Linked DNA regions of Homo sapiens: region 2 is linked to region 1. Evidence: promoter capture Hi-C in human tissues and cell types (Jung and others, 2019). All regions are on one chromosome and are shown on one strand. The core of a region is centred on a gene start or on the middle of the fragment in contact, and the rest is flanking DNA. Distances in the headings are between cores, read along the strand shown.

Evidence for each region. Contacts are between HindIII fragments. The study calls those that stand out against the background at their distance.
Region 2: a fragment that was not itself captured here is called in contact with the fragment with the promoter of ALOX5AP in region 1 in 1 of the 25 tissues and cell types used here (dorsolateral prefrontal cortex).

The regions. Positions count from the first base shown.
Region 1 is chr13:30,733,536-30,737,541 of GRCh38, reverse strand. It overlaps ALOX5AP (arachidonate 5-lipoxygenase activating protein), which reads right to left and starts at 1,999. Exons shown (of 5, transcript NM_001629.4): 1 at 1,867-1,999. The coding sequence starts at 1,936. All of the region lies in intron 2 of LOC124903146 (a long non-coding RNA gene), which reads left to right. The HindIII fragment of the contact is 13,431 bases long and covers 1-4,006 here.
Region 2 is chr13:29,940,677-29,947,942 of GRCh38, reverse strand. It overlaps LINC00544 (long intergenic non-protein coding RNA 544), which reads right to left. Exons shown (of 5, transcript NR_033889.1): 4 at 172-340. Among named protein-coding and RNA genes, the nearest start is that of LINC00544, 7.8 kb to the right of the region's middle. The HindIII fragment of the contact is 6,169 bases long and covers 1,638-7,266 here.

The DNA of each region.
Region 1 (4,006 bases), core at 750-3,249:
AAAAGTCTAGATCTCCATATTGTGGCTGTCAGGACTCAGACATTTGGCCATCTTTAATCTTACCTCTACCTCCCACTTGTCCCACAGAAGAAGACTTAATCCTATCTGTCAAAAAGAATTCGAAATCTCACCACTCACCTCAATCTGAACAGGGTTTGCTAGACCATGATGGCAAAGTCCAGGAGAAAGCCCTGGGCAGAGCAGGGCCAGTTCCCTGGTGCACCTCCATTAGGAGAGGTGAGGAGAACCTGTCCTTGAAACAGAGAGCTCTGAAGCTTCCCACAGTTCAGCTCTGAATTGAGAGGGAGCTGGAGAGAGTGAGCTCAAACTTCGTAGCTGGGTTCAGCCCCAACTGCACAGGCAGGGAGGGGGCACAAGGTCCCCTGTCCACCGATGCTCCTCAGTTTTATTGATGGGTGTCAGGGGAGAGGCCAGAGGGGAGATCCTTCCAGAGCTGAATAAGTGCTAGCCACCTGCCCACCCATACAGCTACCTTTGCAGAGACTGCAGGCATTGCTGCAGGCTGACCTGTCCATCACTGTAGCTGTTTTGTTTCCTGCTCTATCCGCCTGTACCCAGAATACTATCTGGGCCAGAGCAGGGTCTCTGTACATGTATGCGGGTTGAATAATGGAATCCTTGCCAATTTACAGGGCCAAGGGAGCCCTGTGTGAAATCATAATGGCTCAAGAAAATGGTGGCCTAAATAAGCCATTTGTTCCCTCTCTGAGCTACAACTTTGTTGTGTGTAATTTAGTATAAAAATGTTTGGGTCAGAAAGCCACAAAGTGTAGTTCTTGTAGAAAACATACTTGGAGTGTGTGAAGCTGAGCCTTTCTGGTGCAGAGGCTGAGGGGGAGGCTTGCTCTGTGCCCAGAAGGCTACATCACCAGCATCTGTCCACACTCAAGATGGGGGAAAATAGAATATCCCAAAGTGATTAAATACTCAAAGTTCCAAAAACGTGACAGCATGTCAATGTTCAGTAATCACCATAAAGCTACAGCAGCTGCCCTTAGTAATTACTCTTTTTTTCTCTATCTTAATAAATATAAAACACAAAGCCACTGGAGATAGTTATGAAAGTGGTCTGAGGCAGCCCTAACTCAGAACTTTAGGAAGACAGCTCTACACAATTCTCCCTTTTCCAGATCTAGGTATCCTGCTTGTTTTTTGTTGTTGTTGTTGTTTTTAACTAATAGCAGGAATAATGGAAATGCAAACGCTGAACAGGACAATTTTCCTCTCTCTCTCTCTCTTTCTGAAGTATACACTGCATATGAAAAATGCTTCCAAAATTATACGTGCTAGAGAAAAAGAAGGTATCACCAAAAAAAAAAGTTTCTTCAGGAGAAAAAAAGAAAAAAGTAATATAGAGGAAAAATAATAAGATGATTTTTTCTACGCACCTCCCAAAATCACTTTCTTTTTAGACTGCAGATGACTGGTAACTTCAATTGCACTGCAGATGTTAGAAAAGCCCAGTATCTGAGTAAATGTGTATATCATGTTCCCTTTCTAGTCTTCTCACCTTCCACCCCTTGCCTGGCCACATTAATTAATAGTTAAAATGCTGATCATAGACACTTCGGTGAGGGTTTTAGCAAAACCTTCAAGTTGCAGCCCTGGCTCTAAAAATGGGACTGGTAATCACCACAAAAGTGAAAGACTAAGAGGAGGAAAACCCCAAATTTACACAGAAATACACACAACCCTATACATTCAAATAAAAAGAAGAAAATAAAGATAAGGTAAAAGTGTTTGTGCATGCGCACACACAGACACAATTGTTTAAGCCTGACTTCCAAACAACCATCAAAGAAAATCTCCCCTTCTGTTCTTCCCTGAGTGAAGGGCTTTCCTTACCATTCTGGACCACGCTGATGAGGGTGACGATGGCCAACAGGACAACATTGCCTACAGTTTCTTGATCCATGTTTGCTTCAGGCTCCCCAGAGAGGACTGCTCTGCCTCCAGCTGCACAACCTGCCCTGTACAGGAAGGGGAAGTGAGAGCTTGCACTCTTTCATCATTACAATTTCTGAAGATCCCCGGCACAATTACACAGTGCCTTCTTCTTCCTTTTTTTTTTTTTTTTTTTTTTTTTAACTAACCACCAAAATGCCCTGGCTGTGGTTCAGTGTGTCCCACCAGGAGAAGCAGGGCTTGGCAGAGGAGCACGCAAAGCCAGCACACTCTCCTACATTTCCTTGTCATGGGAAACTTCCCTGAGAGTCTCCAGAATGAATCCTGGACCCAAGACCATGACCAGCACGAGCCCAGCACAGGCACCAGAGAATCTGGAAGCTGCCATCATCTCTGACTTCAGCAAAGAGAAAGAAGGGAAAGTAAACCCAAAACTTTCAGGTCAGACAGAGTGGCATAAACCTGTAACCCCAGCATTTTGGGTGGCTGAGGTGGGAAGATTGCTTGGGCCCAGGACTTTGAGGCTACAGTGAGCCAATGATTATGCCACTGCACTCCAGCCTGGGCAACAGAGCAAGACTGTCTCACACACACACACACACGCACACACAAATGTAAAATGAAACTTTAAAAAAATGTATAGAACACCAAAAGATCTGTGCCCCAAATACTGTCCTTCTTTTTTTGAATTCCAAGAAAAAAAGTGAACACTTAACACACGGTAAGTAGCAGCCACATAAGGTTTGAATGAAGGAAGGAATAAATGGCAGTGGGGAGGGACAGCTGATATCTCCATTTCTTCAGAGAAAAGTAATAAAGGGAATTCATAAATTAAACCAAAGAATTCAAACCAAACCAAAGAATTCAGGTAAAAGGCAGAAATGGAGTTACAGATGATCCCTAAGGGAAATTCCCAAAGGGAACTGACTTTTCTGAGGCAATCGCAGAAACACCTTCCTGGAAATTCTTTTCAACTGAATAAGAGTAGAGTGGCTGTGCTTTCTGAGAAAGTATAAGAGTGGACCTGCTGGGTGGGTGAGGTGGCTGCCTGGTATTCTGCAGCTCAGATCAGTGTGAATGGCAATCCCTCTGAGGTTACATGGAAAATGCAAAATACCTGCAATCTTTGTCCCAGACTTAGCTATTTGGCATTGGTTAAGAGGTGCTTTTATCAAAACTTCACTTTGAAAGGGAACATGGACCACTGTAACTAGTGGCAGCAGGGAGGGCTGCATCTCGGCACGGAAGAGGTCAGTGTAGGGGAAGATATTGCTCCCTCATAGGTACAGTGCCAGAGGCCCGCTTCAATGCCCTCGGTTCAGCTGAGAGAGAAAGGCTGATGAAGGCAGCGTGCAGAGTTGTGTGCGGGGAAGCCAGCAGCCAGGGCTGTCGGGCTGGTCATGACACACTTGGGTACTCCCTGAGTACCTAGGGCACTTTGTAGAGTATAGACTTTATATTAGCCAAGGCTCTCCAGAGAAACTGAACCAATATATAAATAAGTCTCCTCATATATATATATTGCAGATTTATAATAGAAATTGGTTCACATGCTCATGGACACCATGAAGTTTCATGGTTTGCCATCTGCAAGCTGGAGACTCAGAAAAGCTGCTGGTGGAGACCAGTCTGCATTCAAAGGCCTGAGCATCAAGGAGGGCAATGGTGCAAGACCCAGTCTGAATCCAAAAGCTGGAGAACAAGGGGCTCCAGTGTCCAAGGGCAGGAGAAGATGGAGGGCAATGGTGCAAGACCCAGTCTGAATCCAAAAGCTGGAGAACAAGGGGCTCCAGTGTCCAAGGGCAGGAGAAGATGGATGGCCCAGCTCAAGAAGAAGAGGGAATTTGCCCTTCTGCCCGCTTTTTGTTCTATTCAGGCCCTCAGTGGATTGATGACACCCACCATATTGGTGAGGGTGGGAATTCTTTACTTAGTCCGCTGATTCCAGTGCTGATCTCTTTCAGAAACACCCTCCCTAACACACCCAGAAAAAAACATTTTACCAGCTACCTGGGCATTTTTTAGCTCAATCAATTTGACATAAAATTAACTACCACAGAGTTATTACAAGATTGGTTAG
Region 2 (7,266 bases), core at 3,473-5,972, 790 kb after region 1:
CTCTCTCTGTGCAGGAAGATGGTTTTCATAAATAGCAAAAGGTCTGTCTGTGGGACAGTCATTTACCCGTGCTTCTAGAAAAAATCCTTGCTCTGCTGGCCACTAAAGATGAATAGGCCCCAGCCTTGAGGCTCGGGACTGGCCACGAGGCAGCTGCAGAAGAGCACTAACCTGGACACAGCCAGAGAGGTGCACAGGGACAGCCGCTTCTGAGAATTTCACTCCACACGTGACGGCCAGAGGAAAGGGAGAATTGATGTGGCAGGTCCTGAGCTGGGACATGAGAAGCCATGGCCAGGTCAGTCTTCCACGACTCTTCTTGTGCCAGTACCTTGTGGAACTGATATAATTCTGGATGTATGAGCAGTTTTCATACAACACTCTCCCTAAAGCATCGTAATACCTGGGACGGAGAAGGGCTTTTCGAAGGCTACTCTGCCTATGTGCCAACTCTGCCCTACTCTCTTGCTGATGCTAAGAACCAGTGTAGGGGAGAAAAGGTAACATCTTTTCCTCACCCATTTCTAGGCTCATGGCTGAGGCCCCTGTAACAAAAGATAGCGCAACAAGAAAAAAGCATACAAATTGATTTAGTGTAAGTTTTATGCGACACAGAAGTCTTCAGCAAGGAAGACCCCCGAAGGAAGGTCTTTTATGTTAGGTTTGATGCAGAGTGGACAACAATGGATAAGTGTAATTGGACAAAGGGGCATGATCTAATGGTCATAAATTTTTTTTCTTTTTTTGTTGAGACAGAGTCTTACTCTGTCACCCAGGCTGGAGTGCAGTGGCATGATCTTGATTCACTGCAACCTCCACCTCCTAGGTTCAAGTGATTCTCCTGCTTCAGCCTACCAAGGAGCTCGAATTATAGGCGCGTGCCATGGCACCCAGCTAATTTTTGTATTTTTAATAGAAATGGGGTTTCACAGTGTTAGCCAGGCTGGTCTCGAATTCCTGACCTCAGTTGATCCACCCATCTCGGCCTCCCAAAGTGCTGGGATTATAGGCGTGAGCCACCCTACTAATGGTTATTAATTGAGGAGAACTAGTCAGGCCTACTTGCTCAGATTCTTCTATGTGTCCCCGAGTTTTCAGATAGGGACATTCCTTTCCTCCAGGTGTGGAGGGGGGGTACCATCACAAGAGGGTCTTATTACTTCCTTTAGTCATTGATGGCATGCTTCAGGGGAGAAGAGTAGGAGAAGGTCAGAGAGAACTGTGTCTGCTGCTTTCTTAAATGCCAAGGTGCCGTATTTTGCATAGCATGTCCTGAACCCAATCACTAGCCGTGCAGTGATGACTCCATTGAAATTCAGGTGGTGTGAAGTCCTCTAGGAGCCCCATTAGAATTAAACAGATTGTTCAGATTCTTTAGAATTAGAGGGACCCTGACAGATACGTGTGTCTGCCCAAACACACACATGTGGAAAAGAACAGAGCTAGAAAGGCCTCCGAGAGGAGATGGTATTTGAGCTGCAGCTTGTAGCAAAAGTCGAACTGTTCCAGTCAGACAAGAGAGGGGATCGAAACAAACTCTGAAGCCAAGAGCACCAAGGAGGGTTATCAGGTAGGTGTGGAGCAGACTTTTGCTCCTCCGCAGAGGTCCTGCTTTTGTGTACAAACTTCAGCTTGCGAGCTTAGAGCAGAGAGGAACTTGGGAACATTCAGTCCAGACGTCTTTTTATAGATAAGGAAGCTGGGGCTCAGAGAAGGTCAAACAGATTGTCTAAGCACAATTACTTTGCTGCTGAAGGAGAGAAGCATTTTGTTCCACAAAGCCCTAATATGCATGGGATGAACACAACCTAACATACATCTTGCTTGACACCTGTGATGTTTGGCCCACATACAGCACCTCACTTGGTGTTGTATCTGTATGGAAATAAATGGCCTGTTAGGCTGAAATGATCTATGGACGACCTTCAGGGCTTTGGAGATGGTCTCTTTCAGGGCAGGTCACTTTAAAACCAATAATATGGAAGCAGGGAAGATGCCTCTGGTGGCTAAGGAAGTCTGTCTCCTGCATTTTTATGCTGGGCACTTTTCATTAGATAAGTAAGTATATGTCAGAAAAACGTGAAAAAAAACCCATCTGTGTCTATAACTAATTAAAAAGATGTGTGATCAACAAACACCCTCTTCTCCTACAACCAGGGAACAAACAGCTCATTACTTTCCTTAAAAGCCATCCTGGAAACCTTTCCCGGGGAAAATGCGCTGAGCATTGATTATCTATCTACACCCATCATAGCCACACGGCACATTATTCCATTTGTTGGGAGACCTTACTTTACCGGTTGCAGACCAAGTTTCCAGAGTAGAAAGCATGGTCTTAGTCTCACCCCAACTAATGGTTCTTCAGAGGTCTCCCAAAACTCCTGCCGCCTCTTCTGCACGTTAATGAAAATAAATGGCACCAATCTCAATGTTCTTTGCCTCAGACCAAATGGGGCCAGGAGCTTAGAAGCAAGAAGCTGAGGCATCAGCAGGGTACTCCCAGGACAGGGCTTCCTTTGGCTGTGATCATTACGTGATTCCCTGACAGGCTGCTGTTTTCGTCGACGGTGTCCGTAACTCACTGACTGAAATCTTTGACCTCTGTAGTACAGATGGGATCCATTTGCTGCCAGTAATGATGTGTGACCTCTTGGTGAAGGCAGGGGAAGAAAAGAAGCTGAAGAGATCTTCAATATTTTTGAGAATGCATTACAGGGATTCAAGAGTGTCAAAAAGAGACATGGGTGATGAGGAAAGGAATAAACTACTCGCTTTTTTTTTTTTTTTTTTTTTTTTTTTTTTTTTTTTTTTGAGACGGAGTCTTGCTCTGTCGCCCAGGCTGGAGTGCAATGTCGTGATCTTGGCTCACTGCAACCTCCACCTCCCAGGTTCAAGCGATTCTCCTGCCTCAGCCTCCCAAGTTGCTGGGACTACAGGCGCCCACCAACACGCCCAGCTAATTTTTGTATTTTTAGTAGAGACGGGGTTTCTCCATGTTGGCCAGGCTGGTCTCGAACTCCTGACTTCAGGTGATCCACCCACCTTGGCTTCCCAAAGTGCTGGGATCACAGGCGTGAGCCACCGCACCTGGCCACTACTACCATCTTTTAACAGAAGTTCAGAGCTTCACACGGGTAGAATCATGTATGGAAAGGATTTGATGAAGATTCAGGGTGGAACATGCCCTGGGGCAGCACACAGTCAGAGCCATAATTCAAGGCCCTTTTCAGCTCATCACCTTATTTCTTTCCTTAAGATTTCCCAAGTGAGGCCTGGCACTGTGGCTCACATCTGTAATCCCAGCATTTTGGGAGGCTGAGGTGGGCAGATCGCTTGAGCCCAGAGTTCCAGACCAGCCTGGGCAACATGGTGAAACCCCATCTCTGCAAAAAGCACAAAAATCAGCCGGGCGCGGTGGCACAAGCCTGTAGTCCCAGCTACCTGAAAGGGTGAGGTGGGAGGATCACTTGAGCCTGGCAAGCTGAGGCTGCAGTAAGCCGTGAGCATGTCACTGCACTCCAGCCTGGGTGACAGAGTGAGACCCTGTCTTAAAAAAAAGAAAAGATTTCCCAAGTGAGGGCCCAGCTCTTCTCCAGCACTTCTCAAGGCACCGACCACCAGCCAAGGGCACCCTCTCCCTCCTTCATCGCTGAATGCTCCTGGTCAGCCAGAAGGAGGGGTGTGAAGGCCTCAGCAGGTTGATGCCTGCACCGCCTCCTTCACAGGCTCACAGAGAAAGCCCCTGCTCTTCAGACTGGGGAAGCATCTTCGTTCCTCTTTATTCATCTTCCCAGTACCCACAGAGACTAGCAGAGTGTACTGTACAAAGAGGGTAACAGATATTTGTAGAATATTCCTTGAAGAAATGAATGGAGAAACATCGACAGGGTATGGTTCTAATACGCTCACATTGACCTCTTCCACCAGGTTTGAAGATATTATTTCCCTTTCCTCTCAGTCCCAGTGGTCCTGAGGCCCAGGTTGGAGCCACTGTTCTCTCACCCACCTGAAAGCTGACTCATCAACTTCCCTGGATCCCAGACATGGATTTTCCCTGAAACCAACTCTTCCTGTCTTGGGAAGCCGGCTCAGGTCAGTGCCTGACCGTTTCCTGGGAGAGGCTCTGGTAAGGCCAGCCTCGGCCTTTCCTTCATCTACTTCTGCTCCGAGAAAGTTCCTCATTCTTTTTTCTCTTTAGACATTACGTTATTTTTCCTGCTAAGTGTTACGGTAACACATAGTAATCATAGAAAATTTGCAAAATAAAAGAAAGTATAAAGAAACAAACCAACGAAACCCCCCAATGATTTCTAAAGGGCCTGTGTTTCTAGTCCTTGCTCCATTCGGGTCCCCTCCTTTCTTCTGCAAACTTCCTGCTTGTAATCCTCTTTGTGGGAGGACTCTCACATTAGCATTTCAGGTCTCTTTATCTTTGGAGCCAAATATTAGCATAAGAATTAGCATATTATAACCCAATTACTTTTCAGTTACAAACAATCTCAACCAGATTGGGGTTATTCTTAATTTGCATAGTTTTGACAAGGGGGTGAGAGATGCAATGGGAAACTGTGGTGTTCTCAAGTAAACATAACAAAGGTTTGCTTTGGAGATGAATGTGGCTTGGAAACAAATAAAAAGATAAGACATAATGAGAGGATGTGGAGGCTTCTGCGATGGGTGAGTGCTGTTCTGCCCAGAGAACCATGGAATAAATGATTTCTCACCATCCCTTCCAGCCTCTTATAATGTAACATGGTTTCAGGAAAATAATAGGGCTTATCGAGAGAGTTCTCTCATAGCAGAACAGGCCAGCTGCCAGTTCCCTGTAGGTCTTCATGAAGTTTACCCAGGATCCCTGTCAAGGGAGACAGTGAAGAACTTCAGGATACTTCAGGAGACTCTCCATCCCCATCTTCCCAGGAAGCTGGGTGTCTCCCAGGACAATGCATCTAAATACCTACATAGATGGGCATCAGTGAGCTAACACATGCTTGGTCAGTGTAAGAGAATAACCAAATTGCCACTATTCCAGAATAGGCGTGCTATCTAATTACCATAAGATCCCAAGAATCTATTGCAGATCTACCATATGGACAGAGCTGTACTAGGTAGGTACAGCCTAGTTAGTGAATGCTTCTTAGGATCAGTATGAAAATGAGACCAAGAGAACTCTTATTGAGGGATCTGAATCAGATATAAACAGCAGGATCACTAGATTTTCTCGGAGAGGGCAAAGTGGACTTTCTAGTGTTATGCAAATGTTGGATATCTACAAGCTTTCACCCCCAGACTCCACAAAGCATGAGTGAGCACTGTAGATTTCACTAAACACTATGTTAGGGAGATGGAGACGAAGTTACAGAGCACAACACATGGTATTTCACTGTAAAATTTCTTATTAGACATCTCTTTCCTAGTCTTTGTTCTCAGCATTAAACATTTTCTCTTTATTTAACAACCTTTCATTGGTTTCAACCTCTGGTCCTGCACTGTACTGAGAGCTTCTGAGGTTGTGCGGAGCCAGGCACATGCCTGGGTGGGTGCAACCCCAATGACCAAGGAGCTGGCCAAGCTGGTTGAGGTGAGGAGATACCGACCAGGGAGAAAGAAGGCAGGACATGGGCAAAGGCAGAGATACCGTACTGGCTGTGGCTGTGCAGTGTCATGCCAGAAGTGACAAAAGATGAGACGTTGCCTGCAACTGTGAGGGAGCTTTGCCTTCATCTGTAGAGACTCAGAAGTTCATCAAAGGACTTATTTACTGGTCTGGTTTCCATCTTTACTTTTGTCTGCCTTGGCCTCCATGTGTTCTGGAAACGTATCAGTGATAACTTCTAGCCAAATACCTGTCACATATTTGAAAGCAATAATGTTTCGTTACTTGAGTTTTCCTCTTTAGCTTCAGTAGTTCTGACTCTTTAGCCTTTCCTCATGGGGCCTCTTTTCCATCATGAGTCCTGCCCTTTTGTTTGTGTCATTCTTCTCTGGATTGTCTCAAGTCTTTCCATGTACTTTGAAAAGTGCAGTAATCCAAATGGCATGTGGCTCCCTATGAGCGGGAAGCATAAGAAAATGACTTCTAGCTTCCCATACAATTTTCTCTTTAATGTGTTGTAGAATTATAATTTGTGCCCCAGAATAACACAATACGGTTGGCATGTTTTCCAGCTTGGAGTGGGTTATAATTTCTAACCATTCCCCCTATTTTTACCAGCTGGTCTCTAGACAGCTTATATGAATCCACATCCATTGATCTTAGTGTGCCAGTTAGCATTACTGTCCAGGGTCCATTTTGTTTTAATCATCTTAGTTTATATTTTACTGTACATCTGCCATAAATCCTGGATTTCTTCCCTTCTACCCACAGAAAAATCTGGTTCTAGAAAATAAGGTGCTGGGTGTCTTCTGAACATAGCTTAAACAATGCATTGTCTGCAAGCCTTAGAAGTAGCTAAAAGGCAAGCTCTGCGGATTATTTACAGGTGACTTATCAGTGTCTCAAATCTAAATTCTGATTATTATGCAATTCCCTCTTTTTAGGCTGTCATCATTTTTCATTACTTAAGGACTATCTCGGCTCTTGGGCCTTCACTAAATTGTTACTGTCAGGATTTGGGGAGTTATTTTGAAACCTATCAGCAGTGGGTGACCTCCTGGCATCCTGATTCAGAGTTTTCCATAATCCCCACTACTACAATTGTTAAATTGTTACCTGTGTAAAGCCTCCTCCTTTTTATAATTGAGTAAAATTAATTTCCTTTCTTCCTGGTGTAAATTTAGTTGATCTCATTTACCCTTTGTTAGGAAATGGTAATGTGTTGATTAAATTAAGGGCTTCACATGGATTTAGAATAGTTTTATGTGGGGAGGAGTTGCCGGGAGATTTTCTCAGAGGCTGATAAATAGCTAAAGAGAAATAGAGAGTTAACAGTGACATGAAGAGAGAAATACAAAGCTTTTTTGAATGTGCAAGCAGCTGTTAGCTTAAGGACATTGGTTACATATGAATTTTAGCTTTGGATTGAGAGTTTTCTAGTGTAAAGTTCAAATGCTGAAGACCTCTGGGAATGGTGCCACCATTTTTCTTCTGTTTAATCCTAACTAGAAAAGGTAGGGGAGGAAATAGTGCATAGGGTTTTTTTTCTTCCCATTAAAACAAAAATTGGTGTAAAAAGGAGTGAAGAGTTATGGAGAAGGCTCAAATCATTATATGCAGGAAGATTTCATTCATTAGAGAGAGTACATTTAATAGAACAGTAACTTTTC